3 separate regions of the Homo sapiens genome follow, and all the other regions are linked to region 1. Evidence: promoter capture Hi-C in 16 types of primary human blood cells and fetal thymus (Javierre and others, 2016). All regions are on one chromosome and are shown on one strand. The core of a region is centred on a gene start or on the middle of the fragment in contact, and the rest is flanking DNA. Distances in the headings are between cores, read along the strand shown. Region 1 holds the start of MYH6 (myosin heavy chain 6). Region 2 holds the start of LOC105370406 (a long non-coding RNA gene). Region 3 overlaps RNF212B (ring finger protein 212B).

What was found. Contacts are between HindIII fragments. The CHiCAGO score rates a contact against its expected background, and 5 or more counts as called.
Region 2: a contact is called between a fragment that was not itself captured here and the fragment with the promoter of MYH6 in region 1, in 1 of 17 cell types (naive CD4 T cells). The highest score is 5.1, in naive CD4 T cells.
Region 3: a fragment that was not itself captured here is called in contact with the fragment with the promoter of MYH6 in region 1 in 1 of 17 cell types (naive CD4 T cells); the score reaches 6.1 in naive CD4 T cells.

What each region holds. Positions count from the first base shown.
Region 1 is chr14:23,405,833-23,410,436 of GRCh38, reverse strand. MYH6 (myosin heavy chain 6) reads left to right here and starts at 2,164. Exons shown (of 39, transcript NM_002471.4): 1 at 2,164-2,184; 2 at 2,829-2,861; 3 at 3,201-3,414. The coding sequence starts at 3,214. RefSeq lists enhancers at 2,811-3,311, 994-4,604. The HindIII fragment of the contact is 15,953 bases long and covers 1,251-4,604 here.
Region 2 is chr14:23,213,615-23,218,218 of GRCh38, reverse strand. It overlaps LOC105370406 (a long non-coding RNA gene), which reads left to right and starts at 4,127. Exons shown (of 4, transcript XR_943606.3): 1 at 4,127-4,221. It also overlaps a transcript of RNF212B not described here. The HindIII fragment of the contact is 2,562 bases long and covers 1,536-4,097 here.
Region 3 is chr14:23,247,160-23,251,763 of GRCh38, reverse strand. All of the region lies in intron 4 of RNF212B (ring finger protein 212B), which reads right to left. Among named protein-coding and RNA genes, the nearest start is that of RNF212B, 12 kb to the right of the region's middle. The HindIII fragment of the contact is 696 bases long and covers 2,154-2,849 here.

The DNA of each region.
Region 1 (4,604 bases), core at 915-3,414:
GGCAGCTTAGGGAGGACGGAGAGCAATATGTGAGAGCAGGGAGAGAAGGAGCCTGGGGAAGGGAGAGGACGGTACAGCGGAGCAGACGGGCAGGGCCTGGGGCTGAGTGAACACCTTCCTTCCTCCTCCTTCCACAGGAGCGGGGGACTACCCCCCACCACCTCCACTCCCCGCTGCCCTGCCACCACCACCTATACCAAGTGAGGCCTGCTCAGAGCACAGGGTTCCCTGAGGACAAAGCCTGGTCTTTGTCACCTGACCCCGACCCAGACTGACCTGGCGTTCTCAGCTCCTTATCATGTCCCCAGAGCTATGGGAACCAAGCAGTGACGCACTGGCCATGGGCTAACCCCCCGGCTCGAATTCTGGGGCCTCGAGTAACCTAGAGCTGGGGACAGGTGGCCTGCATCCCCTGGGGGTAATGATTTGGCATAAGCACCTGCAGAAGATGGGGATGTGGGGTCAACTAAGGTCCCTCCAAGGACATTGAGAAAAGGTCCAAATGCTCTGGAAAGAGAGGTGTGTTCCTGAGCCCAGGAATGGGGTGGCAGCGTCCTAGGGAGCTAGGGGAGAGGCCACATCTTAATGGAAAGTGCTCCTACCCAGAGAAGCTGACCCCTGTCGTCCTACCCACCTCCACACCCTGGAGCTATATTGAGAGGTGACAGTAAACTGGTGGGAGGGGGGCTGGGAGGGTGTTCCTGGGTGTGAGGGTGGGGGGAAGGCCAGAGCAGGGGAGTCTGGCTTTGTTTCCTGAACACAATGTCCACTTAGTCATAACAGGAACAGCCTGCTGAAGACCTGACACCTACAGCCTCTGAGAGATGGCAGCATTGGAGGATGGGGAGCGGGGCCTTGAGGGCCTAGGGTGCTTGAGGACACCCACAAAGAAGGGAATGTGAGTATAAGCCCTGGAGGGCTTGGAAAGGGGCAACAAAATTCTGCCTGGGGAGGGGGCAGGTGGCAGAGCCCCACCCCGATGGAATGCAGTGCCTGGGGACCAGATGGTGTAAATCCCCAGGCCTGCCAGGCACCTGCACCCTCTGGCAGCCCGGTGAGGCAGAAGGGGACAGCCCCTCACCCACCCCCCTCCTCTCTCAGGCCCTAGGATTAGCACCATCTTCTTCTGCCCACCCCACCCCAGGAGCAGAGGGTAGCAGGGGAGGGCAAAAGCCTATGTGTGCAAATGCGGATGTGCAAATGTGTGCATCCATGTACACAAAAGAAAGTAGAAAAGAAATCTGCAAGCTTGAGTGGGTAAGTGTGAAAAATCTGCATGTGTGGCTGAAGATGGGCACAGACACGGTCAAGTCTGTATGTGAGAGTGCTGAACTGGGGTTCTGTGTGAAAATCTGCCTGAGGCGGCAGGGAGAATCACTGCCATTGCGTGAGCAGGTTGGATGTTGGCCACTCTATCAGGAGCATTAGGGAAGGGGTGGGGACTCCAGACGTGTCCCCAAACCAGGGTGGCCTCAAGACCTTGGGAGAACACTTGTCTGAAGACTTGGGGAACAGAAGGAGACCAGGCATGGCACTTATGCAGACTGAGGCCAGGACAGAATTTCCTGACAAAAGAAAACTGAGCCATGGAGATGGACAACAGATCCCTTCCCTGGGCACCATACTGCAGCTTTTAGTCCCTAGCACTGGGGGCTCCAGTACTAACAGCAGGAAGATGCTCCCAGCCTGGGACTGTGTGAGGGAGGTCAGAATGGGAAGGAGAGGCTGGGGAACAGGGGAGGAAAGCCCATGGTTGGGAGGCGGAGGACAGGCATTTGGCCTGCAGGAGAAGGTGACCCTCACCCATGTTTTCAGTTCACCCTTCGGGTTAAAAATAACTGAGGTAAGGGCCATGGCAGGGTGGGAGAGGCGGTGTGAGAAGGTCCTGTCTTCCCACTATCTGCTCATCAGCCCTTTGAAGGGGAGGAATGTGCCCAAGGACTAAAAAAAGGCCGTGGAGCCAGAGAGGCTGGGGCAGCAGACCTTTCTTGGGCAAATCAGGGGGCCCTGCTGTCCTCCTGTCACCTCCAGAGCCAAAGGATCAAAGGAGGAGGAGCCAGGAGGGGAGAGAGGTGGGAGGGAGGGTCCCTCCGGAAGGACTCCAAATTTAGACAGAGGGTGGGGGAAACGGGATATAAAGGAACTGGAGCTTTGAGGACAGATAGAGAGACTCCTGCGGCCCAGGTAAGAGGAGGTTTGGGGTGGGATGCCCTGCAGCCCGTCCACAGAGCCCCCACCGTGAGGGACCTCCTTCACCAGGAGTGGGGTGCAGGTCAGTTGGAGGCCTAAGGGCTCTATTAAAACTGCCTATCTCCAGGCCCAGGGAAGTTCCCCCTGACACAAGGAGGTTCCACAGGAAACCCAGAAACCTCTTTTCTCCTTCTCTGACTCTCCATTTCTTTCTCTGCATCATTCTGAGTCTCCTACATGTTGTCTCCATCTTTCCATCTTCCTTCCTCCTTTGGATGGCTTCCTTCCCTTGATCCTGGTTTTATCTTGCCTCTTGGTCTTCATCGACACTTGTCACAATCATGCTTCTTTGTCTCTCTCCCTTGTCCTTCCTTCTTGGCACGTGTTCTCACCTCCCTGCCTCTCTGCTTCTAACCCTGTTTCCACACCCCGTCCCTCGCACTCATATTGACTCGGTGCCCTTTCTTTTCTGCCTCTGCGTCTTTCCCTTTCTGACTCCCTGGTCTGTCCTGCCTGTCTGCGCTCTGGGGCTGCCTCCATCCCCGGGTGGCCTGCCTCTGTTGTTCTTCACTCTCCTCATCTGTTCTTCTCTCTGCCCGGCTCTACCTCTGTTGTTCCTTGCTCCACCCACGGTCCAGATTCTTCAGGATTCTCCGTGAAGGGATAACCAGGTGAGAACTGCCCCCATTTTCTCTGCAGAGACTGGGGCATGCTTCTCCTGGGAGCCGGATTGCTGGACCAGGGGTCTGCTGTCCCAAGCACTCAGCGCCAACCCTTAGCATACTCCAGCCAATGCCACCCCAGGGAAACCCCTTACAGAGATTGTCCTTCAGCATCACCTCAGAGGGCAGGAGAAGCAGAGCCCTGAGTAGGGGAGGGTGCAACAGCAGGTGCCTCTCCCAGGGTGGAGGAGAGGAGCGGGGGTAGGGAGGGGGGCTGCAGAGGACAAAGCCACTCGCTGGAGCCTGGGCTCCCTCAGGAGTAACATAGCCCTCCTGTCTCTGACCCAGGGGAAGCACCAAGATGACCGATGCCCAGATGGCTGACTTTGGGGCAGCGGCCCAGTACCTCCGCAAGTCAGAGAAGGAGCGTCTAGAGGCCCAGACCCGGCCCTTTGACATTCGCACTGAGTGCTTCGTGCCCGATGACAAGGAAGAGTTTGTCAAAGCCAAGATTTTGTCCCGGGAGGGAGGCAAGGTCATTGCTGAAACCGAGAATGGGAAGGTGAGTAGGGCATGGCGCCGGGGCAGAAGGGAAGGAGGTCTGGGAAAGAAGATGCAGAGGTGGAGCCACTTGCAGGGGGAGCTGAGAGGGCTGGAGAAAAGCCAAGGCCAGTGGGGATGCCAGGACATGCTCCTTTGAGGAGCCCAGAATCTGATCCCTCTCAAATTGACCTGAGCTGGTGCAACAGGTGCCACCCAGGGCCATGTTCCCCCTGCCAGAGAGGATGCTGAGGAAGAAGAACCTCAGTGTTCGCCTAAGAGGGGTCTTGTAGATAAAGAGGGCACAGACACAGCATTAAATGATGCCCCCTTCTTGCACTTGTATCCCTCTTCCCTGTGCCTCAGTTTCCTCCATGAGTCCACTTTCTCAAATTCCGTTCACCCAAATCAAGAGTAATTCTTAGACCCAGATGAACACAAAGATCAGAAACTTTTGAGCTGAGCACTCTCCTTGACTGGCACTCAGAAGCTCTGGTCCCTGGTTTGCTCACACCAGCCAAGAGAATCACCCCTGGTTACCAGCTGCGGCTCAGGGCTGTGTGCCTCATGAACTCGTTGACTGAATGTTACAACCCATTGAAGTGTAGAATAACAGGCCACAATCCCCTGGGGCTTTTGACTCTGATCCCAGCTCTGCCACCCGCTAGTCACTGTGCAGGCAAATCATTTAGTCATTTAGAGCCACGGATTTCTCCACTATAAAAAACACTGGAATACCTACTGGCAGGATCTAATGACATCAGGGCATGGCAAACTGACTGCTGCCAATCAAACCACACCAACAGTGATGGATGGGGAGTGTGGAGTAGATGGGTGAACTACTTTTCCAGCAGGGGTGAAGGTTTGCCCTGAGCAACAGATACCCTAAAGCGCTGCCCGCGGGAGACAGCCTCGGGGTCAGCATAAGGTGTGCACAGATCTGAGAGCTGCCAATCTCCAGGTCTGCCCCAAGACCCTTGGAACATAGGGACTGAAGAGTGATGGTCATGGGCACAGGGTGTCCCCAGGATGGTCTGGGGATCTGGCAAGAGAAAGGTACCCTAGGACAGTCTCTAGGATGGGAGATACAATGGGAAGGGAAATTACCTGGGGAAAGTGTCCCAGGGGACATCGGGGTAGGGGCCGGGGCACTGGTCAGAGCAAGGGGAGCAAGGCCAAGTCCCTGTGTCCTGGGAGGAGGTCAGTGGGCAG
Region 2 (4,604 bases), core at 1,567-4,066, 190 kb after region 1:
TTTTTTGTATTTTTAGTAGAGACGGGGTTTCACCGTGTTAGCCAAGAGGGTCTCGATCTCCTGACCTCGTGATCCGCCCACCTCAGCCTCCCAAAGTGCTAGGATTACAGGCATGAGCCACAGCGCCTGGCCTGCAATTTTCAACTCTAGAATTTCTGCTTGATTCTTTTTAATTATTTCAATCTCTTTGTTAAATGTATCTAATAGAATTCTGAATTTCCTCTCTGCATTATCTTGAATTTTTTTGAGTTCCTTAAAACAGCTATTTTGAATTCTCTGCCTCAAAAGTCATATATCCCTGTTTCTCCAGTATTGATCCCTGGTGCCTTATTTAGTTCATTTGATGAGGTCATGTCTCCCTGGATGGTGTTGATGCTTGTAGATGTTCATCAGTGTCTGAGAACTGGTGAGTTCGTTATTATAGTCTTCGTGGTCTGGGCTTGTTTGTGCCTGTCCTTCTTAGGAAGGCTTTCTAGGTATTCAAACAGACCTGGGTCCCAAGCCCTGTAATACTGTGATTTTTGCAGACTCATAGAAGTACCACCTTGGTGGTCTTGGATGTGATCTGGAAGAATTCTATGGATTACCAAGCAGAGACTCTTATTCTTTTCCCTTACTTTCTCCCCCACCCCAAAATGGAAGCTCTCTCTCTGTGTGCTCAGCAGCATGGAGCTGTGGGTGTGGCGATGCAAGCACCCATGTGGCAACCACCACTGGGACTGTGCTGGGTCAGACATGAAGCCAGCACAGCACTATTTCTTGGCCAAGGCCCTTCTCTTCAGGGCAGCGAGTTCCCCAGGACTCAGAGGTGTCCAGAGATGCTCTCTGGGAACCAGGAATTGAAGTTAAAAATCTTAGCAGTTTAGCTGATGTCCTAGTGCAGCTAAGCTGGCACTCACACCACAATATAAAGTTCTTCCCGCTCTTCCCTCCCCTTTCCACAGGCAGAGGAGCCCCCCCCCCACCACTGCCACCACTGCCACCACTGGTCTATGGTGGTTCTGCCAGGCCACTGCTGATGTTAACTTAAAACCCAGGAGCTTCTCTGTCAGCTTGTGGTGAATTCTGCCAGGCCTAAGACTCACCCTTCAGGGCAGGGGGCTCCACTCTGGTCCATAGCAGGTTCAGAAATGCTGTCCAAGAGCCTAGGCCTGGACTCAGGGACCCCGGGAACCTTCTTGTTGCTTTACCCTTCTGTGCCTGTCCCCATTCTTAACATCTGTCAGTCACTAATCTGCTCTCCAGTTCTATAATTTTATCATTTAAAATGTTGTATAAGTGGAATCATACAATCTGTAACCTTTGAGATTGGTCTTTTTTTTTTTTTTTTTTTTTTTTTGAGACAGGGTCACATTCAGTCACCCACACTAGGATGCAGTAGGGCAATCTCAGCTCACTGCAACCTCTGTTCCCCAGGCTTGAGCAATCTTTCCACCTCAGCTTCCCAAGTAGCTGAGACCACAGATGCATGCCACCACATCCAGCTAAGTTTTGGATTTTTGGTAGAGATGGGGTTTCACCATGTTGCCCAAGCTTGTCTTGAACTCCTAAGCTCAAGCAATCTGCCTACCTTGGCCTCCCAAAGTGCTGGGATTACAGGCGTGAGCCACCACACCCAGCCAGATTGGCCTTATTATTTTTTTTTTTTTTTACTTAGCATAATTTATTTGTTTGGAAATTGTGCTCGGTCATGTTTGTTTTTTAATCTGTTCTGTCGACGTCTATCTTTTGATTGATACAGTTAAACCATTTAAATTTAATGTACTTATTGATATGTTAGGGATTAAGTATGCTATTTGATTCTTTGTTTTCTGTATGTTCCTCTGTTTTTTTATTCCTCTGTTTCACTTCTTTTTGCTTTTTTGTAGGTTACTTGAACATTGTTTAGAATTGCATTTTTATTTATTTATAATGTTTTGGAATGTATCATCTTGTATAGATTTTGTTTTGTTTTGTTTTGTTTTTGTTTTTTTGAAATGGAGTCTCGCTCTGTCACCCAGGCTGGAGTGCAGTGGCACGATCTTGACTCACTGCAAGCTCCGCCTCCCAGGTTCACGCCATTCTCCTGCCTCAGCCTCCAGAGTAGCTGGGACTACAGGCACCCGCCACCACACTCAGCTAATTTTTTTTATTTTTAGTAGAGATGGGGGTTTCACCGTGTTAGCCAGGATGGTCTCGATCTCCTGATCTCGTGATCCGCCCGCCTTGGCCTCCCAAAGTGCTGGGATTACAGGCATGAGCCACCACACCCGGCAAATGTTTTAATGGTTGCTCTAGAGATTACATTATACATGCATAAAATAACTCAGTCTAGTGGTGTCAATGTAATTCAATATGAAACATAATTAGATAACTCACTAAGAATGGATAAGGACTAGGAGAAGGATAGTCAACATTTACCCATGTTTTTACTCTTTCTGTTGTTCTTTTTTCACTAATTGTGTTCCATGTGTCTTTCGTTTATCATTTCCTTTCTGTTTGAAAAATTTTCATTAGCCATTCTTTTAGGGTACATCTGCTCATGACCCCTTTTCTTAGTTTTCCTTCATTTGGGAATGTCTTGAGTTCACCTTATTCCTAAAGAATATTTTTGCTGGGTATAGAATTCTGGATGGACAGTTCCTTTCTTTCAGCACTTGAAGAATGTTGTGCAGTTTTCTTTGGGCATTGATGATTTCTGTTTGTTTGTGTGTGTGTTTGTTTGTTTGTTTAAAGATACAGAGTCTTGCTCTGTCACCCAGGCTAGAATGCTGTGACACAATCATGTCTCATTGTAAGCTCAAATTCCTGGGTTTAAGAATTGATGGTTTCTAAGGAGAAATACACTGTCATTTGAATCTTTGTTTCTCCATAGGAAACTGTATTAGTCTGTCTTGATGCTGCTATAAAGAACTGGGAAATTTATAAAGAAAAGAGATTTAATTGACTCACAGTTCTGCACGGCTAGGGAGGACTCAGGAAACTTACAATCATGGCAAAAAATGAAGGAGAAGCAAGGCACACCTTACATGACAACAGGAGAGGCAGAGGGGTGGGGGGAACTGCCAAACACTTTTAAACCATCATGTCTCATGAGAACTCACTCACCATCATGAGAACAGTATGGGGGAAACTGCCCGCATGATCCAATCACCTCCCACCAGGTCCCTCCCTCAACACATTGGAATTACAATTCAATTCAAGATGAGATTTGTGTGGGGACACAGAGCCAAATCATATCAGTAATGTATCATTCCTCTCTAGCTATCAAGACTTTGTCTTTATTTTTTTCTGAAAATTATTAGTGTTAATTATGATATGTCTTGGCATGGATTTATTTGGGTTTATTCTTCTTGAAGTTCACTCAGCTTTTTGAATTTGTGGCCTTATTTCTTTCAACAGATTTGGAAAGGTTTCAGCCATTATTTCTTCTAATATGTTTTCATTTTTTCTCCTCTTTTTCTCCTCTTTTTCTGGGACTACAATGACACAAATGTTAAATCTGATTTCTGAAGTCCTGACATTAGTTATGCCCGTTTTCTCTCTATTTTGATTATTATTATTATTATTTTATCTTCAAGTTCACTGACTTTCCTATGCTTTATTCATTCTGTTATTGATCCTATCCAATGAAGTTTAAACATTTTTTTGGTTATATTATTCAGGTCTGAGGTTTCTATTTGGTTGTCCTTTTTTTAAATTAAATTAATTTAATTTTAAAATTTTAATTTAATTTAATTATTGGGGGGACTGAGTCTCACTCTGTTGCCCAGGCCGGAGTACATTGGCGCAATTTGGGCTCACCGCAACCTCCACCTCCTGGGTTCAAGCGATTCTCCTGACTCAGCCTCCCAAGTAGCTGAGATTACAGGCATGTACCACCATGCCCAGCTAACTTTTGTATTTTTAGTAGAGACGGGGTTTCACTATGTTGGCCAGGCTGGTCTCAGACTCCTGACCTCAAATGATCCACCTGCCTTGGCCTCCCAAAATGCTGGGATTACAGGCTTGAGCCGCCATGCCCAGCCTTAGTTTTTCTTTGTATCTTCTATTTCTTTGCTGAGACTTTCTACTTTAAAAAAATTTTATAAGTGTTTTTGTAATTGTTTATTGAAGCTTTTTTAAAAAAGATACAGAGTCTCACTATGTTGCCTATGGATTACATTACAGCACACTACAACCTCGAACTCCTGGGCTCAAGTGATCCTCCTGTGCTAGCCTCTCAAGCAGCTAGGACTACAGGTACACCCAATTCATTGAAGCACTTTTTATGGTGGCTCCTTTAAAATCCTTGTTAGATAAGGCTAACATCTATGTAACACTGAAATGTTAGTGCCTGTTGACTGTTGGGGTTTTTTCCATTTAAACTGAGATTTTCCTGGTTCTTGTATGATGAGTGCTTTTTGATTATATACTAAGCATTTTGAGTATTATTTTGTGAGGCTGAATCATTTTCTCTCTCTGCCTCTCTTTCTCTCTCTCTACCTCTCTTCCTCACTTCTTCTCTCTCTTTCTTTCTTCATTTGGCATGCAGTCACCCTGTTTAGGTAGAGCACACAGTTCCTAAAAGTGGTAAATGTTCAGCTCCCCACTGGGTCCCACTGACACCTTTCCAGGAAAAGCTG
Region 3 (4,604 bases), core at 1,252-3,751, 160 kb after region 1:
GCTCACTGCAACCTCCACCTCCCAGGTTCAAGTGATTCTCCTGCTTCAGCCTCCAGAGTAGCTGGGATTACAGGCGCCCGCCACCACACCCATCTACTTTTGGTATTTTTAGTAGAGGCAGGGTTTCACCATGTTGGCCAGGCTGGTCTCGAACTCCTGACCTCAGGTGATCTGCCCGCCTCAGCCTCCCAAAGTGCTGGGATTACAGGCGTGAGCCACTGCACCTGGCCCCTATGTTGTATCTTTTATAATAAACTGGTAATAATAAACAAAGTACTTTTCTGAGTTCTGTGAGTCATTCTAGCAAATTATTGAAGCTTGTGGGAGCAGGAGGAAGTTCATGGGAATCCTCAAGTTTGTTGTTGGCCAGTCTGAAGTATTTTAGCCTGGGTACCCCATTTGTGGCTGGTGTCCAGAGTCGGGGCAGTCTTGTGAGGCTGAGCCCTAAACATGTGAAGTATGATACTAAAACTCTAGGAATTAGTGTTAGAATTGAATTGAATTGAATTGAATTGTTGCATACCTAGTTGGTGTCAGAGAACTGGTTGGTATCAGAAAACATCTCACACAGGGGCAGAAAATATATAGTGCAAATATTATTCATCTTTCCATTTAGCAAACCTTTACTGAACACTTTACGTCAGGCATAAGAACTGGAAATGCTAAGATGAATAGTATGGGTTCTTGTCTTTTAGTAGTGTCAAAGGAAAATATGTTGGACCCCCCAAATCACTAAGCTAAAGGGAAAAGCCAAGCTGGGAAATGCTCAGGGCAAACCTGCCTTTCATTCTATTCAAAGTCACCCTTCTGCTCACTGAGATACATGCATATCTGATTGCCTCCTTTGGAGAGGCTAATCAGAAACTCAAAAGAAGGCAACCATTGGTCTCTTATCTACCTATGACCTAGAAGCCCCTTCCCACTTTGAGCTGTCCCACCTTTCCCGATCGAACCAATGTTCATCATACATATGTTGATTGATGTCTCATGTCTCCCTAAAATGTATAAAACCAAACTGTACTCTGACCACCTTGGGCACATGTCGTCTGAACCTTCTGAGGCGCATGTCCTCAATCTTGGCAAAATAAACTTTCTAAATTAACTGAGACTTGTCTCAGATTTTCCGGGTTTACAGTAGCTTATCACAGTCTAGTAGAAGAGACATTCTGACACATGAACTAATAAGTAAAACACTAGGTTATACGCAGAACACAAGTACTTACAAGATATAGAGATAATGATTAAGAGGTAATTATTAATTCAGTCTTTTTTTTTTTTTTTGAGACAGAGTCTCGCTCTGTCACCCAGGCTGGAGTGCAGTGGCACATTCTAGGCTCACTGCAACCTCTGCCTCCCAGGTTCAAGCAATTCTCATGCCTCAGCCTCCCAAGCAGCTGGCATTACAGGCACGCGCCACCATGACACCTGGCTAATTTTTTGTATTTTTAGTAGAGACAGGGTTTTACCATATTGGCCAGGCTGATCTTGAACCCCTGACCTCAAGTGATCCACCCCCTCAGCCTCCAAAAGTGCTGGGATTAGAGGCGTGAGCCACCACGGCTGGCCTAACTTAGTTTTTAAAGTGTAGAAATCAGGCATTTCAGGTATAAAGGTATGAAAGTATATGGTCTGTAAAAGAACTGCAAAGAACTGAATCTGCCTAATAGATTAGGTAATAAATAACCTTACGTAATAACTTGTGTTTGTACATGAGAGGTGAGATGGTAGTTGTGATTGAAATTGGAGAGGTTAGGAGGAACCAGAACGTTAAGGTAACTATGTATCACTCTGAGCAGTCTGAAACTTAAGTGATAGGAAGCCACCAAAGGATTTTGAAAAGGCAGTTACTTGTTCAGATTTGTAATTGAAATAGATTATCGTGACGGTTCAGAGGGAACAGATTTGAGGAAAAAAGAACCCTAAAAATGCTTTCTTAGCAAAAGCAATTGGAGAATTGTTAGTAAGATGTCTGAAGTACCCACTCTGGATGAGAGCCACAGCAGCCCACCAGGCAGAGGGTTATGTTTTGGGTTGCACAGTTTGTATGATCAAAGGAATACTACCTCACACTGGCCTAAGGTTCCTCAATCCCCTGCTCAGTAGTGATGAAGAATTCAACTACACTGTTTCAGAAGTCCTAAATACTGAAAGCTTTTCCTTTTTAGGTAAAATAATATCAAACTAAATACAACTTTTCTTCAAAAGCACCATTGAGTATCTCTTTTTAATTTTTTATTTTTACACAAGCTGGAGTATGGTGGTGCAATCATGGCTCACTGCAGCCTCAACCTCTTGGGATCAAGCAATTCTCCCACCTCAGCCTCCTGAGTAGCTGGACTACAGGTGTGTGCCACCATGCCCAGCTAATTTTTAAATTTTTTGTAGTGAAGGGGTTTCACTATGTTGCCCAAGCTAGTCTCAAACCCCTGGCCTCAAGCAATCCTCCCACCTTGGCCTCCAAAGTGGTATGAACCACTGCGCCTGGCCCACTGAGTACCTCAGTTGTTCAAATTCTTAATTCAGCTGAGGGATGGAGAAGCTCTGGTCTATTGATGAGATCAAATCTTGACCTGATTTTATTCCAACAGTATATGTAGCAATTATGTATGTATATATTAGTAAAAACATATGACTTCAAAAATCTTTTAAAAACCATAAAATAGACCAAGGGTCAGCAAACAACTGACCATAACCAGCTGTCTGTTTTTGTAAATAAGTTTTATTGGAACATAATTACACACATTTGCTTACATGCTGTCTGTGGCTGCTTACATGCTGTCTATGGCTGCTTCCATGCTACAACAGCAGAGTTGGGTAGCAGCATCGGAAATTGTATGGCCTGCAAAGCTTAAAATATTTACTGGCCTGCTGTGGTCTGAATATTTGTGTCCCACAAAAATTCATTTGTTGACACTCAACTCCCAATGCAATAGTATTAAGAGATGGAGGCTTTAGGAGGTGATTATGTCATGAAGGCTTTGCTCTTGTGAATGGGATTAGTGTCCTTATAAAAAGAGGCTTGGGGGCCGGGCGTGATGGCTCATGCCCATAATCTCAGCACTTTGGGAGGCTGAGGTGGGCGGATCACGAGGTCAGGAATTCGAGACTAGCCTGACCAACACGGTGAAACCCCATCTCTATTAAAAATACAAAAATTAGCCAGGTGTGGTGGCGCATGCCCGTAATCCCAGCTACTCAGGAGGTGGAGGCAGGATAATTGCTTGAACCCGGGAGGCGGAGATTGCAGTGAGCCGAGATCGTGCCACTGCACTCCAGTCTGGGCGACAGAGCAAGACTCTGTCTCAAAAAAAAAAAAAAAAAAAGAGGCTTGGGGTTGGGCGTGGTGGCTCATGCCTGTAATTGCAGCACTTTGGGAGGCTGAGGCGGGCAGATTGCGTGAGCCCAGGGGTTCGAGACCTGGGCAACATGGTAAAACCCTGTATCTATTAAAAAAAAAAAAACACAAAAACTAGCCAGGTGTGGTGACATGTGCTTGTAGTCCCAGCTACCTGGGAGGGTGAGGTGAGAGGATCGCCTGAGCTCAAGAGGGCAAGGCTGCAGGGAGCCATGATTGCACCACTGGCCACAACCACACCACTGCACTCCAGCCTTTGTGACAGAGTGAGACCCTGTCTCAAAAAACTAAATAAAAAGAGGCTTGAAGGAGCCTGTTTGCCACTTTTGCCATGTGAGGATGCAGCAAGAAGGCATTATCTTGGAAGCAAAGAGTAAGCCCTCCCCCGACACTGAATCTGTTAGTGCCTTGATGTTGAACTTCCCAGCCTCCAGAACTGTTAAAATTAAATTTCTGTTATTTAGAAATTGCCCAGTCTAAGGTATTTTATTATAGCAGCCCAGACAGACTAAAAGAGCTGCTAAGGATGTAAAATGGTACAGCCACTTGGGAAAACAGTCTGGCAGTTCCTAAAAAAGTTAAATATAGAGTTACCATTTGACCCAGAAATTCCACTCGTAGGTATATACCCAAGAGGAATAAAAATATATGTCCATGTAAAAACTTGTACATAAATGTTCCATAGCAATATTACTTATAATAGCCCCAAAGTAGGAACAACCCAAATGTCTATTGACTAATGAATGGATAAGTAAAATGTATATCCATTTATATAATAGATTATTATTTGGCCATAAAATGGAATGAAATACTAATAAAGTCCTAACAGAGATGCTACAACATGGATGAAACTTGAGAGCATTATACTTAGTGAATGCAGCAAGTCACAAAAGACCATACATTATATGATTCCATATTTATGAAATGCCCTGAACAGGAAAAACCATAGCAACAGAAAGTAAATTAGTGATCGCCTGGGGATGGGGAGGGTGGGAAGGGTTTGGGAAGTGCCTGCCGATAAGTACAGAGCTTCTTTCTGGGGTGATGAAAATGTTTGAAAATTAGGCAGTAGTGTTTGCACAATTCTGTGGATGTATTAAAAACCACTGAATTGCATACTTTAAAAGGGTAAATTTTATGGTATGTAAATTACATCTCAATAAAGCTGTTATTAAAAAAGAAGGTGATTGCATGAAAACTAGTGGACCTAAAAAAAAAAGTAGATGGGGTGTTTATACTTCCCCTTGAA